Linked DNA regions of Homo sapiens: all the other regions are linked to region 3. Evidence: promoter capture Hi-C in 16 types of primary human blood cells and fetal thymus (Javierre and others, 2016). All regions are on one chromosome and are shown on one strand. Each heading gives the region's core, a stretch centred on a gene start or on the middle of the fragment in contact. The rest is flanking DNA. Distances are from core to core; before and after follow the strand shown. Region 1 overlaps DOK5 (docking protein 5). Region 2 overlaps DOK5 (docking protein 5). Region 3 holds the start of PFDN4 (prefoldin subunit 4). Region 4 has its middle 190 kb from the start of DOK5.

Region 1 (3,631 bases), core at 367-2,866, 420 kb after region 3:
CAGGAATTCCAGAAATACGCACAGTCAGTTATACCTGCTTTGTAAAGCAAAGTGCAACAAGAAAACAATATGTGAATACATGGTGTAGGCGATTCTGCCCAGCAGCCCACCCCTTCACCCTGGCATGTGCTTGGCATCTTGTCACAAAAGCACCTGCTTCCACTGAGTGTGAGCCTAGTGTTTAAAGGGACAATCTGATTATATGTGATTTTTATGTTATGCATTAACTTTAAAAGCTGACCTCTGAGTAAGTGGCAGCTCCATTCGAGCCTGTAAACCTCTGGAAGGCAGGGACAAGGCCCCATGGGTGTGTAATAAGCTCAGGGTCTGGCACAGGGCTTAAAGGTTTGTTGAATGAACAAAATAGGGATCAAATAAGTTATTGTGTGAGCCAAGAGAAAAAGAAAAATCGAAGCCAAAATACCAAGTCCAGTTCTCTCCTAATGCCCAAACAGGGCACAGGTTCCAGGCAAGTCTGCTTTAAAAGGCCACAGAAAACTCAGTCCCTAAGGATATCTATTTCAATGTATAGGTGGGGGAGAGAATTTTTTTAGTAAGGAGGCAGAAAAAGTTACCGGAGGCAAAGGGAGCAGTGAATTTGTTTTATGCATGTGGCTGAGAATTCAGATGGCTCCGAATAAATTGATGCAAATCACTTTCATTCCCCATGAAAATAACCATTTGAGTGCATCTGGTGCTCGGCAACATGCTGCACTTGGAAATTTGGCCCCAAATGGTTGATTTCACTAACAGTCTGCTTTGTCAAAGCTGTAAGCCACAATGGAGGCATTGTTTCTGCCAGAGTCTGCTCACTGTGTAGTGTCTTTGCTGCATGTTTTTTTTTTTCCCTTAGCAGGAAAGCGGTCTTTCTTTCTTACCCACATTTTTTTTTCTAACATCGAGGAAGTAAGCCTCTACTCACTCTATTTTCTTGACAGTTTCATAATATTCTGTGATACCTTGGTAACATTTGGATGATAGGAGTACCCATCACTTTTCCTCCAAATGTCAGAACAAAAGAGAGGACTTGGAGAAAGTAAAGACAGCTCTTTGGGTGGTTCCTGCCAAACATCTGTCAGAGCTGGAATCAGAATTAGGCAGCCCATGAGGACTGGTTCATTAGAATGTCGGGGAAGACCACATGTTTGGCAGATCGTTAATTTCCACTTGAAAGAAGGCCCCTGGGACAGTGGGGGTCCAAGGGCCTCATAGAGGTTCTAATCTCCTGTTTTTCCAGATGGTGGGGGCAGCGTCATCTCCTTGCAGCCTAGACGTTTGGCCAGTTGCCATTTCTTTAAGCTTTGGAAATACAGTTAAGGTGCCTTTTATCATTTGGAACGGAGTAGATTTGAGTCCATCCTTTAGGATCTGTATAATACTCTCAGTACTTTCTATGAGAAATATGTAGAATTGTGTTATGAACTGTAGCTCTGGAGTAAGAGGCCAGGTCCTATATCCTGGCTGGACATCTTTACCAGCTCAGGGTCCTCGGGCTACTAACTTTACCACCCTTAGTACTTGTTCCCCCTTCTACAAAGTGTGGATTATATTAGTTCACAACTTGCCAGGTGAGATAAGGCAGGTGATTTCTTGGCACAGTGCCTGGTACCTATTAAATATAGCAGCAACCTGAGCTGTTATTATTACTGACTTGTAGTGGGAGAATAAAATGGCAAGGGAAGGCAGATTATAGGGAATCCCCATTCACACAAATGATTCATTCATTTCTTCAATCAATTCATCCATCCATAATTCAATTATCCAATCCCTTTTTATTAAATGCCTACTATATGCCAGGAATCATGGTGGGCACGACATCTATGAGCATATACAAGAAATCTCTGCCTTCAGGAAGGAGAACGCTGCTGCGAGGAGGGTCTTCTCTCCTTTTTAGAGGAAGGAGCACCGTTGTGGAGGCAGACAATGATATATCCAAAGCTTGGCTTTCAACTAGCTGTCTGACCAGACACTCTAAAATCCTGGGGGACAGAGAAAGTGTGAAAGTTTTTATTCATTTTAAGTTTGCAGACCCTGGCACAGTGTGTGGCTTATAAATGATGCCCAGAGTACATACATGGATGGGATGAGGGAATGAATGAGCCGAAGAACACCGAGTGCAGAATTCATCGAAAGGGGTGAGGGAAAGAGCGGAGGTTTTTAGGTAGGAAGCATGTGAGCAGAAAACCCAGTTAGGAGGCTTCTTCTAATTGAGGGATAATTAGAGTTGGAATGAGTGGCTCCATCTGGCTCTTTGCTGAGAGTCTGCGTGCTTTATTTCCTTCAATTTTCACAACTATCCTTGGAGATAGGGACTGGTTTTTGAATCTTATTTATTTTTACATAAACACATGTCTGTAAAATTTAACTAACTGCAAAATTATGGTCATATAGATGATGATTAGTGCTCTATTTTTTCTTTTTATAATTTGTTTACATGCATTTTCCCCCTCCTGTCTCTTTATTAGCAATTCCTAACCTTGTTAAGAAGTTCACATGTACCTTTCCATGTTTTCCTGTGTACCCATATTATCCTGTACAGATATGCACATCTACATATATACATAGACACATACACAGATACATACAAAAGATGGGTGTCGTGATGCAATTGTTTATTTTACAAAATTGTGATCACAACACACGACTAACCCCTAGTTTTTCCGTTCAACAGTAAACATTTAATGGAAATAGTTTGAAGTCTTGTAGTACAGTTGTAATTCAGAGGTTGACAAACTACAGCCCACGGGTGCAATCTGGCCTATGACTGTTTTTATAATTTAAATTTTATTGGAACACAGCTACATCCTCCCTGTTCATTTATGAGTTGTTGTTCACACTGAAACAGCAGAGTCGAGTAGTTGGTGATGGTGTGGCCTGCAAAGCCATTTACTATCTGGTCCAAAACAGAAAAGTTTGCCGACTTTGTTCCTATTCATTCTTTTTGATGGCTGCATGATATTTCAGAGTCTTGATGTAACATAATTTATTAAACGTACGTATAAGAATATCAGATTTTTTGCCATTAAAACAATACTCTTTGACTGTGAAGTGAGTCCCTGAAAATAAAAAACAAAACAACACAACAACATCAAAACCAATACCGCAACAATTATCCTTGTACACAGTTCTTATAGATTGTTAACCTTATTGAATTGAGTTTGTGAACTTTAGTTAATGGAGTTTTCTAAACTCGGGAGTAGGATTGCTGAATTAAAGGATTTAAGTCGCTTTTTAAAATATTTAAATCAGTGTTGCTGCCTTGTCTTTTGAAATGCTGGAGTATCTTGCATTTTATTGGACATATTAGTAGATCCATTTCATAATGGCAGAAACTGAGGTTCGGTGGGTCACCCTTTAGTTAAGTAGAAAGTCAGGACGGGAACCAAAAGCCCTGGACTGATACTCACTGGGAACTGAAAGGAAGAAACAGGTTTGGGAAACTTGTCAGAGGTTGAAAGCGGAGAGAGCCTCTAGGGTCTGAGGGTAAATGTGTCTGTGGCGTGGGTCAGGGTGACAGGGTAAGGGTACGGGAAAGAAAGACGCAGTGGATCTCCAACTTACGTGTGCATCACAGTCACCTACAAAGCTTGTAAAGCCACAGATTTCGGGGTTCCACTTGAGTGTTTTAACA
Region 2 (3,865 bases), core at 219-2,718, 400 kb after region 3:
ATGAACCATAGTGTCTTGGTCTTGAATCTTCACAGTACCCAGGATCACAGTCCCAGCACATGCACACTTGTGCTCTGTCCACTGGGGGCTCAGCCCCGCAGGCTACCCCTCTTCCCACCACCTCCCCAACATGTTGGCTTCACTTACCTGTGTCCCACCTTAAAGCTTTATATGTGCAGTTCTGTCTGTCAAGGCTGTTTTTCCTGCCTTCTTTCTCAAACCACTCCCCTCCCCAGGGTAACTCAATGAATTCTCAGTGTCAGTAAAAGTTGCTCAAGGAAGCCTGGGTCAGGTTCCCGGTGATGCTTTTCCTAGCACTGCCTTCTGCTTCACAATTCATTCTACAGTTATTTATTGAACATGAAATGTAAACCAAGCCATGCTCTAGGCATTAGTGGAAAAGCTGCGAGTATATCAGAACAAAATCCCCGTCTACAGGGAGCTTACATTCTGGTAAAGTAATGGAAGCTCTCTTTACTTCAAGATGTAATTGTGTACTCTACATATCCTATTTAATACTTGCAGTAAATCTAGGTGAGAGTTCTTAGCATTACATTTGTTTACATATAAAAATGCAGATTTAGGCAGGTTAGATAGCTGACAGTAGGTCACAAAGCTGGTGAGATGGCAGGCCAGCCAGGTGATCCCTGGTCAAGCTCCTGCATTCTATTATGTTGCCTTTGGTAGGTGGAAGAATGAATCCTTCCCAACATTTTCTGAGCTATTGGTTCCTTCTGAATTCTTGAATAATTGAATAATCCATGATTCGGAGTGACAGGCATTTCATTTAGGCAATTATTGGGAAACTCAAAACTATACCTGCATCTATATGGCAGCAATATTATTATATTTGAATCCTTATCATCACAGAGGAAATTAGAAAGGCCTAACTTAAACTTTTTTTTTAACCTTCTCTGGGTTTCCAATCCACTGGTTTCCATTAATGTACGGAGTGTTTGGGCCACTTGGGGCCACTTTGGATACAGGAAGAGCATCCAGGGTAAAAATCAATGGGTAAAGAGAAAGGAGGAATCGGGAGCAACAGAAGTTAAAGCAGGTGGCTTTGCTATTCTGCTAAAGGGTAAACCCATTAGAACATCTTTGTTCTGTGTTGCATTTTCTCTGGAGACGAGAAGCAGACATGGCTGTAGGAGGTTATGTAAGACCATTAGCCTGTTTGATGTGCCTTTCTTTTCACTTCCTTTTTTTGGTTTGTTTGTTTTCTTCTTACTGCCTTGGGGAGTTAGCCCATCATATGGTTTTGATGGAGGCATGTAGTAACATTTTAGAGTGTTGTAAAGCTGCTTATGAAACGGTTCCAAACACATCAATTAGGAGGGGTGGATAAGATAAAAGGACTTGTGGGTAGAGTATAGAAGAGACCTGATGGAAGAGCATCTGAAGGTCAGTTTGTGGTCATTAGCATCTTCATGGGTCAGGCTGTCCAATGAAGGACACATGGCTTTGAGCAATAGGAGCAAAAGTCCTAACAATTTACACCAAAGGCCTCATTTCTGTTCTATTTAGAGCTCTTAATGCATTTTGTGTCTTTAATGCACAGTGGTGATTTCTTGGCCAGATCTGGTTGATTAAGGCCTTTTGACTCTCACAACTTAAAAAGAAAATGAAACAAGTTGCTGACATATAAAATTCAGGTGACTTCACATAAAAGTCAAGAAGTCTTGCTTCTCTTAAACATAATAGAATGCAGGAGCTTGATCAGGGATCACCTGGCTGGCCTGCCATCTCACCAGCTTTGTGACCTACTGTCAGCTATCTAACCTGTCTAAACAATCAGAAACTGTGAGTACCTTGGACGCGTATTTCCCCATTCCCCCACATAGACTCCTGTCTAGGGCTGACTTCTGGATACCATGCTTAGACAGGACCTGTGCTCTCTGCTAGCTGCGCTACCTCTACCCTAGGTCATAGTGAGTTTGAGCACCTTTATGCATTCACGTTCTCTGCCTGAACTCTAATGGAATTTGAGGTTGTGTCTCCTGTTGTTTTCTGTTAGTGGTAAGTGGTGTGTGTGTGTGTGTGTGTGTGTGTGTGTGTGTTCCAGATCTTCAGGCAGAGGAGAGGGAAGTCCATGTACATTAAAGAAGAATGTTTAGTCCTATAGTTTTGGTTTCATTTGTTTTTGATAACAATATTTATTTAGAGATTTAAATGTCATTAAGGGAAGGTTGTGGATTTATTATGTTTCTTAAAAGTGGGCATTGGGGGCCGGGTGCAGTGACTCATGCCTGTAATCCCAGCACTTTGGGAGGCAGAGGTGGGCAGATCACGAGGTCAGGAGTTCGAGACCAGCGGCCAAAATGGTGAAACCCCACCTCTACTAAAAATACAAAAATTAGCTGGGAGTGGTGGCACATGCCTGTAGTCCCAGCTACTCATGAGGCTGAGGCAGAAGAATTGCTTGAACCCGGGAGGTGGAGGTTGCAGTGAGCCAAGATCGCACCACTGCACTCCAGCCTGGGCGACAGAGCGAGACTCCATCTAAAACAAAACAAAACAAAACAAAACAAAACAAAACAAAACAAAACAAAGTGGGCATTGGGTAAGAGTGATTTTCCAAGAGTAAAATTAATTAATGGGTTATGATATAAATTAAGCATTCCACCACTAGTATTACAAATAAGATAGAATAGAAAATAATAGCATGTTATAGATTGATGATAGATTGATAGGTATACTGGCTAAAAATCTAAACTACATTTCCTACGGCGGGTTGCAGTTAACAAAGACTTTGAAAGCAACTAGATTGTCCAAGCTTGAGAAACATAGCTGCAAGTTTTGGTATTAATCTGTCACACTACAAGTATTTCTGAGTAACAGGTACCTTCATTACTTCTGGAACCAAGGTTGGCATTTAAGGAAGTAAATAAATATACAGTGACCTCTGCCCCAGGGGAAACCAGTGGCCACTTTTTCCTCTTAAAGAATTGATTAAGATTACTTCCTTCTCTTGACAAATTAATATTTCCTAATTGATGGAATAAAGATGTATGAAAAACAAAACCTTACAGAATTGGATGCCAAACAATAGAGTCAAGTTTGTATGGCGGCTTAAATAAGGAAGAGGAAGTAGAAAGGGTTTAAGTATTTTAAGATGTCTTCAGGGAAGAAATGGGACTTTACTGAAAATGCCTTGAATTTCAGTTTCAGATCTTCTTTGGGTTAAAATGACTTAATAATTAAAATCACATGATCAACCTCATGAGCTAGTTCTTTAGATTAGCTTATTGAAAGAGCCTTCATGTTTTTCCCTCTATTTCTTCTTCTTCTTTTTTTTTTTTTTTGGTGGGGGGATGGCACCTCTCTCTGTCACCCAGGCTGGAGTGCAGTCGCATGATCTCAGCTCACTGCAACCTCCACCTCCCAGGTTCAAGCAATTCTCCCTGCCTCAGCCTCCAGAGTAGCTGGGATTACAGGTGCCCCCCACACCATGCCTGGCTAAGTTTTGTATTTTTTAGTAGAGACAGAGTTTCACCATGTTGGCCAAGCTGGTCTCGAACTCCTGACCTTAGATCATCCGCCCACCTTGGCCTCCCAAAGTGCTGGGATTACAGGTGTGAGCCACCACACCCAAACTCCCTCTGTTTCTTCATACATGGCTCATATTCATAAAATTCATGAAATTTAATTCAAATGTAATGGGTTTTGGCCCACTACTTAGGCCATGCCATATGTATAGAAGGCTGTCATTTGGCTGTGGTACTGGGCCAACTGCGAAACATTAGATACATCTTCCTCGTATTATTGCATTAACTGCATAGACTGGGCTAGACTAAAAAAAATAACAGTGGTTTAGGCTGAGAATTTGCTTAGTTTCTATGCTGTGTTAAACAGTTCTTTAGAT
Region 3 (3,598 bases), core at 461-2,960:
CCCTGGAAAAACATCTTTATTCAACAAATACTTTTTTGAGCACATATGAGCTACACACTGGAAAGTCCCAATACTAAGGGCCTGGAGAGCCCAGAATAGGCAGGAGAACAGGCGATGCCCGTGGCGGGCTAGGTGGTTCGGTGGGGAGGGCACAGGGTGCTATAAGGTCTCATTCCCCTCATTTAACCAAAGAGGAAATTGGGACTTTGAGAAAGGAGGAGGCTTGTCAGGGGCAGTTCTCAAGCTGTGGCCCATGAACCTCGGGGGTCCCTGAGACCTTTTCAGGGATCCATGAGGGCCTCCCTTTCCCAACTACATGATTTGTATGAGGCTGGGGTTTTTCATACCTACAACTAGGCAACTAAACAGTGTATTTGGAGAGACTGAATGCAGAAGTAGACATGAGAATGTAACCTTCCATTAAGCCTGATATTAAAGAGATCAGTGAAAATGTAAAATGATGACAATCTTCTCAATTTATTTTTGTCTTAGAAAATATAGTTATTTTTAAAGTGTGATTTTTATTACCATGGAATGGAGTTTTATATTATTTTAAATGAATTAATAAATACATTTTAAAAATTCTGCTTTAATTTCTAATACAGCAAATATCGATAAATAACCCACATAAACAAAAGTTCTTTGGAGTCCTCAGTAATTTCCAGGAGTATAAAGAGGTCCTAAGGCAAAAAAAAAAAAAAAAATTACTAATTGGGAGACACAAGTGTCAGAATATACAGTAATTGTTCAGTAATATTGCTGTAAATTAATTAATAGGATTGCCTAGTCACAACAGCAAAGGCATGGAATCAACCCAGATGCCCATCAGTGGTGGATAGGATAAAGAAAATGTGGTCCATATACACCATGGAATACTATGCAGCCATAAAAAAGAACAAAATCATGTCCTTTGCAGCAACATGGATGCAGCTGGACATCATTATCCTAAGTGAATTAACACAGAAACAGAAAACCAACCACTCATGTTCCCACTTATGAGTGACAGCTAAACACTGGGTACTCGTGGACATAAAGGTGGGAACAATAAATGCTACGGATTCCAAAAACGGGGAAGGAGGCAGGGGAAAGGGGTTGAAAAATTACCTGTGGGGTACTATGTTCACTACTTGGGCAACGGGATCATTAGAAACCCAAACCTTAGCACCATGCAGTATATCCATGTAATAAACCGGCACACATACCCCCCGAATTTAAATTAAAAAAAAATTACATTAAAAGATAGGAGTACCTCCTTTACACCACCTGAATTATCATGGCACATAAATCTCACACCCTATTTGCCAAGGCCATTCGTTCCTAGCTGTTTTACAGGTAGGTTAGCTTTCTCAATGCAAGTCTGTGGGACGGATGGAGAAAAATTCCCCGAGCCCTTTGATCCTGCCCCAGCTGGGCCCCGCCGCGCTGAGCCTTGGGCGCGCCCCCTGCTGCCCGCGGCCGGAGCCGTTCGCCACACCCCCGTGTTTATGTCGGTCCACGGGGGTTGCCTGTCCCTTTAATTGGCATGTACCAAGTCCTTCCAGGTCACATTTCCTCCCTACGTCCCAGCCGTTTGGACTCACTGGCCAAAAGTCCAAGAGGACGGAATGTGGAGACAGTGTTGTATTTTTGCGGGGAGTTCTAGGCCGACCGGGAGCGAGAGAACGCTCGGGGGCGAAGCGCGCCATTGCGGCCCTCCCCGCCGCCTGCGGTAGTCCAGTCCCAAGATGGCGGCCACCATGAAGAAGGCGGTGAGTGGGGAGCTCGGGGCTCTGGATGCTCGGGCGGCGCCGGATCTCGGCCGCTGGGGCCCGGGCGCGGGATGCTGGGGGTGCGCAGCTCCGAAGCCCGGCGTGGGACCCGAGGCCGAGGCCGAGGCCCTGAGAGCGGTCCCGCGGCAAGGCCTGCTCGCGCCTGGCGCCCTGAGCGTTTTCCTAGGCACCTGGCCAGCCGAGGCGGGGCGCCGGGGCTGGGGCCGGGAGCCTCGAAGGACGCAGGTCCGCCTCCCGCGATGCCGAGGGTGCCCCCGGGGAGTCTGAGGAACCTGCAGCCCCGGCCTCGCCCCTGAGGTGTGGGAAGCCGAAGGTCCCGTTGAGTGTGGTTGGCCTTGACTCGGGCGTTGCACCGGCATGATCGCATTAGCCTCACTGGTTATGGGTAGCTGCTGCTGGGAGCGTGGTTACGGGTGAGGAAACTGAGGCCCAGAGATGGGGAGTCACCTGCCCGAGGTTACGCAGCTCATAACGGGGACAGCAGGTTCCTGCATCCCCAGATTAGCAGGCCCCAGAGACCCTGTGTCCAACCTGGAGCTGCCCATTTCCACGCTTGATGCCCCTGAGTCCTTCAGGCTAAAACCAGTATTTATTGAGAATGGAAGATGTGCCGGGCCCAGCAGCCGGCCGTTTATCTGTTATCCTCCCCGCAACTCAGCAAGTGCAATGGGTTCCTCTCCACTTTGCAGGTAGAGAAACTTAGACACAGAGCAGTTAGAGGCCCTAAAGTGACTCAGCTAGTAAGAAGCAGAGCTGGAGTTCAAACTCAGGTTTGTTTTTGTTTTTCTCAAAGCACGCCTGTGTAACCACTAAGCCGGCTAAACTTCCATGTGGGGTTTTTAATCCCGTGAGCCTTCCCAGATGTGTAAAGATAGTCAGATAGAAGAAAAAGAAAATTGGAGAGGGGGAAGGAGATAACGGCTGATAATTTGGGGAGCTTTACAGTGTGCTAGGTACAGCTGTAAGTTGTTTTGCGTGTATTGTTTATTTTATGTTCTTTGAGGGAGATACTGTTTTTATCCTTATTTAACAATGAGAAAACAGGCGCGGAGGCAAAGCTAGCATTTAAACACAGGCATTCTGACTCCGGAGTCTGTGTTTTAAACTGCTATAGGGGGTCTTTGATGAGAATCTCTTGGCTGGAGGGATTTGCGTTCATTCCACTTTTAAGACCACATTAGAACTTCTTTGCTTTGCCCCTATCCAGTACCACATAGTCTATGCCATCTGTGCCTGGTGTAGGGTGACCCATTGCCCCCTTTTATATGAAATTGAGGGACTGCCAAAAATGGGAAAGCCCCAGCCAACTCAGGATGTGTTGCTCACCCTACTATTCTGCCATCCAAAAATTCTTACTGTGTCCCAGAGTAGGGTCTAGGGCCATGGTGATTCAAAAAAGTATGAAACTTTGTGAGATTCACTTCACCTCTAGTTTGTTAAATTGGGCCCTCTGGTGTTAGGTATGGCCTTTAATTCCTTGGAAGATACTAGTTGTGGTTCACTCCGTTTTATAGGTATGGAAACTGAAGTGCAGAGAGGTGAAGTAAATGGTAGAAGAGGAAATGGCAGAAGAATGATTTGAACCTTGGATTTTGATTGCAAAATTTCTAATTACCAACTTTTTTTTTCCTTTCATTGATTCAGTAAATTTTCGGGGGCACGTAATATGGCGTAGTCTCAGTTTTAAGTGGAGACAACTGTGGTGACCAGTGAGAAAGCTCTTCTCCCCTTAATCTCATAGCCCCAAAGAACGTATGTTCCAGGGCAGAGCAGGCATTACTCAGATAGTCAGACAGAAAACTAGTTTCTCTGATGAGAACTGTGAAGGA
Region 4 (4,122 bases), core at 1,488-3,987, 460 kb after region 3:
CCAGTTCCTGTTCTGCTGCTTACAGGTTCCTTGACCCTTAGCGGGACCTCGGTCTCTCTGAGGTTCAGGTTCCTACTTTGTAAAATAGTGATTTGTAGGACTTTGTGAGGAGTCAGATAAGGTGGGCTTTCTCCCCCTCGGCATTATTGATCACCTGAGCTGGCTCATTCTCTGCGGCGGGGGCTGCCCTGCGCACTGCAGGGTGCTTAGCAGCATCTTTGGACTTCACCCACTAGATGGCAGTAGCACCCCCACCAGGTATAATCACCGTAAACAAAATTTCCCCAGTTGAAAACTACAAAAATAACTCATGAATAAAATGTCCCTTCCCGGCTGGCTGCAATGGCTTGCACCCGTTGTCCCAGCTACTCCAGAGGCTGAGGAGGCAGGATGGACTGAACCCAGGAGTTGTGAGTCTTGCTTGGGCAACATAGTGAGACCCTGTCTCTAAGAAAAGAGCAAGAAAAAGAAACAAATACAGTGTCTACATCTACAAGTCACATGGACAAATGGGATCATATCAAGTTAAAAAGCTTCTGCACGGCCAAGAATCCCCTTCTCTTTTACCGTCATAAAATGAAAGTTCTGTCGCATATCAGCAGATAACAGCAGATGGAGGAGTAGGGGACCAGCTGCCCAAGCAGCAAATGGACTTCGGCTCACATGGCCCAACATCTCTGGGGGATCTGAGTGAGGCAGCACTGAGTCCTGGTAAGGAGGTTGTGTTTCAGAGCCAGCCTGCCTGGGTTTGGGTCCAGGCTCTGCTGCTTCTACTGTTAATCTTTAGGTAGGTTAAACAATTTGCATCTCTGTTTCCTCATTTTTAAAATGGGAATAGCAATCATCCCTTCCTTTTAAAGTTCTTGGCTGGGTGTGGTGGCTCACGCCTGTAAACCCAGCACTTTGGGAGGCCAAGGAGGGCGGATCACGAGGTCAGGAGATCGAGACCACCCTGGGTAACATGGTGAAAGCCCGTCTCTAATAAAAAAAAAATACAAAAAATTAGCTGGGCGTGGTGGCGGGTGCCTGTAGTCCCAGCTACTCCGGAGGCTGAGGCAGAAGAATGGCGTGAACCTGGGAGGCGGAGCTTGCAGTGAGCCGAAATCAAGCCACTGCACTCCAGCCTGGGCGACAGAGCAAGGCTCCATCTCAAAAAAAAAAAAAAAAAAAAAAAAATAATAATAATAATAATAATGTTCTTGCGAGGATTAAATAGTGTAATAAATGTAATAAATGTAAAGTCTTCAGGATAGTGCCTGGTACAGGGCTATCACTCAATAAACATTAGTTTCTATTAATGATATTATTTTAGATAGGTTCGAAGCCAATGCTGCATAAAGATTGTTCTCACCATGACCAACTTATCGTAGCTTTCCCTGGACTTTCCTGCTTATAGCATAGAAAATCCCAAGGCTGGGGAAAAAACCCTTGTACTGGGCAAACTGGGACACGTGGTCGCACTAGTCAGATCCCAGTACAACAGTCAATATTTTGTTGCGTCCTGTCCATAGTTTTGTCCACAAACACTGTGTGATTTCATTACCAAGACTTGTGCTCAGTATTTACAATAACAAAGATACAAAATCAATGTAAATGTCCCTCAGTGGATGAATGTATCAAGAAAGTGTGGAATATATATATACGATGTAATATTGCTTGGCCCTCAAAAAGAATGATGGCAGGGCGCAGTGGCTCATGCCTGTAATCCCAGCACTTTGGGGGGCCGAGGTCAGGAGTTTGAGACCAGCCTGGCTGACATGGCAAAACCCCATCTCTACTAAAAATACAAAAATTAGCCTTGAGTGGTGGTGATTGCCTGTAATCCCAGGTACTCAGGAGGCTGAGGCAGGAGGATTGCTTGAACCTGGGAGGCAGAGTTTGCAGTGAGCCGAGATCATTCCAGCCTGGGGACAGAGGAGAGCGAGAATCCATCTCAAAAAAGAAAAAGAAAAGGAAAAAAAATCATGTCATTTGCAGCAACATGGATGGAACTGGAGGTCATTATCATAAGTGAAATAAGCCAGGCACAGAAAGACAAATATGGCATGTTCTCACTTATATGGGAGCTGAAAAATTGATCACATGGAGGTGGAGAGTAGAAAGATAAATATCAGACAGGGAAGGGTGAGTGGGATTGGGGAGGAGGATGAAGAGAAGTGGGTTAAAGGGTACAAACATAGTAAGATAGATGGAAGAAATTATTTATTCAATAGCAGAGTAGTGACTATACTTAAAAATGTATTGTACTTGGATAATGGACACCCTGAATACTGAATACCATTCATAACTACACATTATATACATGTAACAAAATTTTGCATGTGCTCCATACATGTGTACAAATAAAAAATATAAAAACATAAACAATTGGAAGCTTATAAACAAAGAATTGTGCTCAGTAGCAAGGGTTCCATCATGCTCACGGTCCTATAGGAGAGGCAGCAATCAGCTGGGTTTGGGATCGCCAGGCCAGCAGAGCAGCAAGAGGCATCATGCGGCATACGCCGTGTTTCTATTGAGGGAACAGTACTTCAGGTAAACATCAGCAAGCCGACAAGATTTCTCCAGGGAGAAGTTGATGTGAATGAGATACCTATTTTAATGGACCCAGAAAAGACAACTCTATTGTCTTACACTAGAAAACAAGTGATTTGTATAAACGAATGCAGCCTGGGGAAACGGGTGCCACAGACTTATTAGCTAATGGAAAGCGTAATTTTATATCTACTTCTCAGTTTTCCCAGGCACTAACAGAGGGCAGAGTGGCTTGGATTATCTTGCACTGGTGAAAATCTAAGAAGTCTCCCAGTTTTCTGCTAGGCTGAAACTTTCCTGATCTGAGATCCTTTCAAAGATTTGGTCGTGCATTTAGAGAATCATTTTGCTTTAGATAAATTATGGTTGTTGAAGTTGACGCTGCTGAATTGCCTATGCATTCTCCATGTTCTTTCTTACTAACAACCCTGATTTTGTTTGGGGAAGCAATTATTCTAATTGAAAATACTTTTCCAGATCTGGGGTATCCTGGGACTCAATTACGTCCAATGAGATATAAGCAGAAGTCTCTGCAGAAGACGTCCTTCCACCCCTCTCCTCCCTAAAAAGCTTCTAGAAGTCAAGGTTTTTGTCCTCCGTCCTTAGCACTCTCCCCTGCATCTTGCCTGGAATGCAAATAGGATGCTCAGAGGTGGAGAACCTTGCTTCCGCGAGGAGCAAAGAGGCTTGGTAATGATGCCAGAGAGGAAGTCAGCAAGAGTGTGGGTCCTTTATGACTCCCCATGAGTTGCTGTACCAACTGCGAATGACCACATCTGGACCTATGTCATAGAAAAATCTCCTGTTTGGTTAAGCCATTATAGATGGGTTTCCAGTATATGCAATCAAACAGAATCCTAACAGCCAATAGGGGTTTATTTCCATGGTATTTTGTAAACATTGTGAACAGCAAAACCTGGCAGATATGTGGATTTAGAACAGGTTTTGTGTGTGTGTGTGTGTGTGTGTGTGTGTGCACGGTTCTTTGAGTGAATGGAGTTTTTACACACCAGTGTCAGGGCTGCCTTCTCTGTGAGACACAGTAAGTGCGGTGCCTGGAACCTATGATACTTTTTCTTTTTTGAGATAGGATCTTGCTCTGTCACCAAGCCTGGAGTGCAGTGGCAGGATCACGGCTCACTGCAGCCTCAAAATCCCAGGCTCAGGCGATCCTTCCATCTCAGCCTCCTGAGTAGCTGGGATTACAGGTGCACCACCATGCCCAGCTAATTTTTTATTTTTTGTAGAGACTAGGTCTCCCTATGTTTCCCTGCGTGGTCTGAGGTGATCCTCCCACCTCAACCTCCCAGAGTGCTGGGATGATAGGCATGAGCCACTGTGCCCAGTTTCATGGTACTTTTAAGATCCATGAAAATGTTTTTACTTTCTTCTAAAATCAGAAGAAAAAAATTCATTTTGGATTTTGTCTTTATACCAACTCAGCCATATAATATAATTTTAAAGACCTTTTAATGGAAAAAGGGGCCCATAAAGGCAACAGTATTTATAGCCCATGAATTTATACAGCCTAGGATACCTCCTCATGTCAAAAAGAAATTGGTCTCATTTCTTCTTGTTAATTTTCCA

The links. Contacts are between HindIII fragments. The CHiCAGO score rates a contact against its expected background, and 5 or more counts as called.
Region 1: a contact is called between a fragment that was not itself captured here and the fragment with the promoter of PFDN4 in region 3, in 4 of 17 cell types (M0 macrophages, M1 macrophages, M2 macrophages and 1 more). The highest score is 9.8, in M0 macrophages.
Region 2: a fragment that was not itself captured here is called in contact with the fragment with the promoter of PFDN4 in region 3 in 2 of 17 cell types (M1 macrophages and M0 macrophages); the score reaches 12.4 in M1 macrophages.
Region 4: a contact is called between a fragment that was not itself captured here and the fragment with the promoter of PFDN4 in region 3, in 1 of 17 cell types (M0 macrophages). The highest score is 5.9, in M0 macrophages.

What each region holds. Positions count from the first base shown.
Region 1 is chr20:54,624,119-54,627,749 of GRCh38, forward strand. The region is part of intron 6 of DOK5 (docking protein 5); the gene reads left to right. Among named protein-coding and RNA genes, the nearest start is that of DOK5, 150 kb to the left of the region's middle. The HindIII fragment of the contact is 639 bases long and covers 1,298-1,936 here.
Region 2 is chr20:54,605,378-54,609,242 of GRCh38, forward strand. All of the region lies in intron 5 of DOK5 (docking protein 5), which reads left to right. Among named protein-coding and RNA genes, the nearest start is that of DOK5, 130 kb to the left of the region's middle. The HindIII fragment of the contact is 2,611 bases long and covers 164-2,774 here.
Region 3 is chr20:54,206,377-54,209,974 of GRCh38, forward strand. It overlaps PFDN4 (prefoldin subunit 4), which reads left to right and starts at 1,711. Exons shown (of 4, transcript NM_002623.4): 1 at 1,711-1,748. The coding sequence starts at 1,725. It overlaps LOC124904937 (a long non-coding RNA gene), which reads right to left and starts at 1,665. Exons shown (of 2, transcript XR_007067669.1): 1 at 1,581-1,665; 2 at 570-680. RefSeq lists enhancers at 1,108-1,925, 1,466-1,785, 1,926-2,742 and a silencer at 1,776-2,045. The HindIII fragment of the contact is 8,273 bases long and covers 1-3,598 here.
Region 4 is chr20:54,668,503-54,672,624 of GRCh38, forward strand. No RefSeq gene overlaps it. Among named protein-coding and RNA genes, the nearest start is that of DOK5, 190 kb to the left of the region's middle. The HindIII fragment of the contact is 731 bases long and covers 2,373-3,103 here.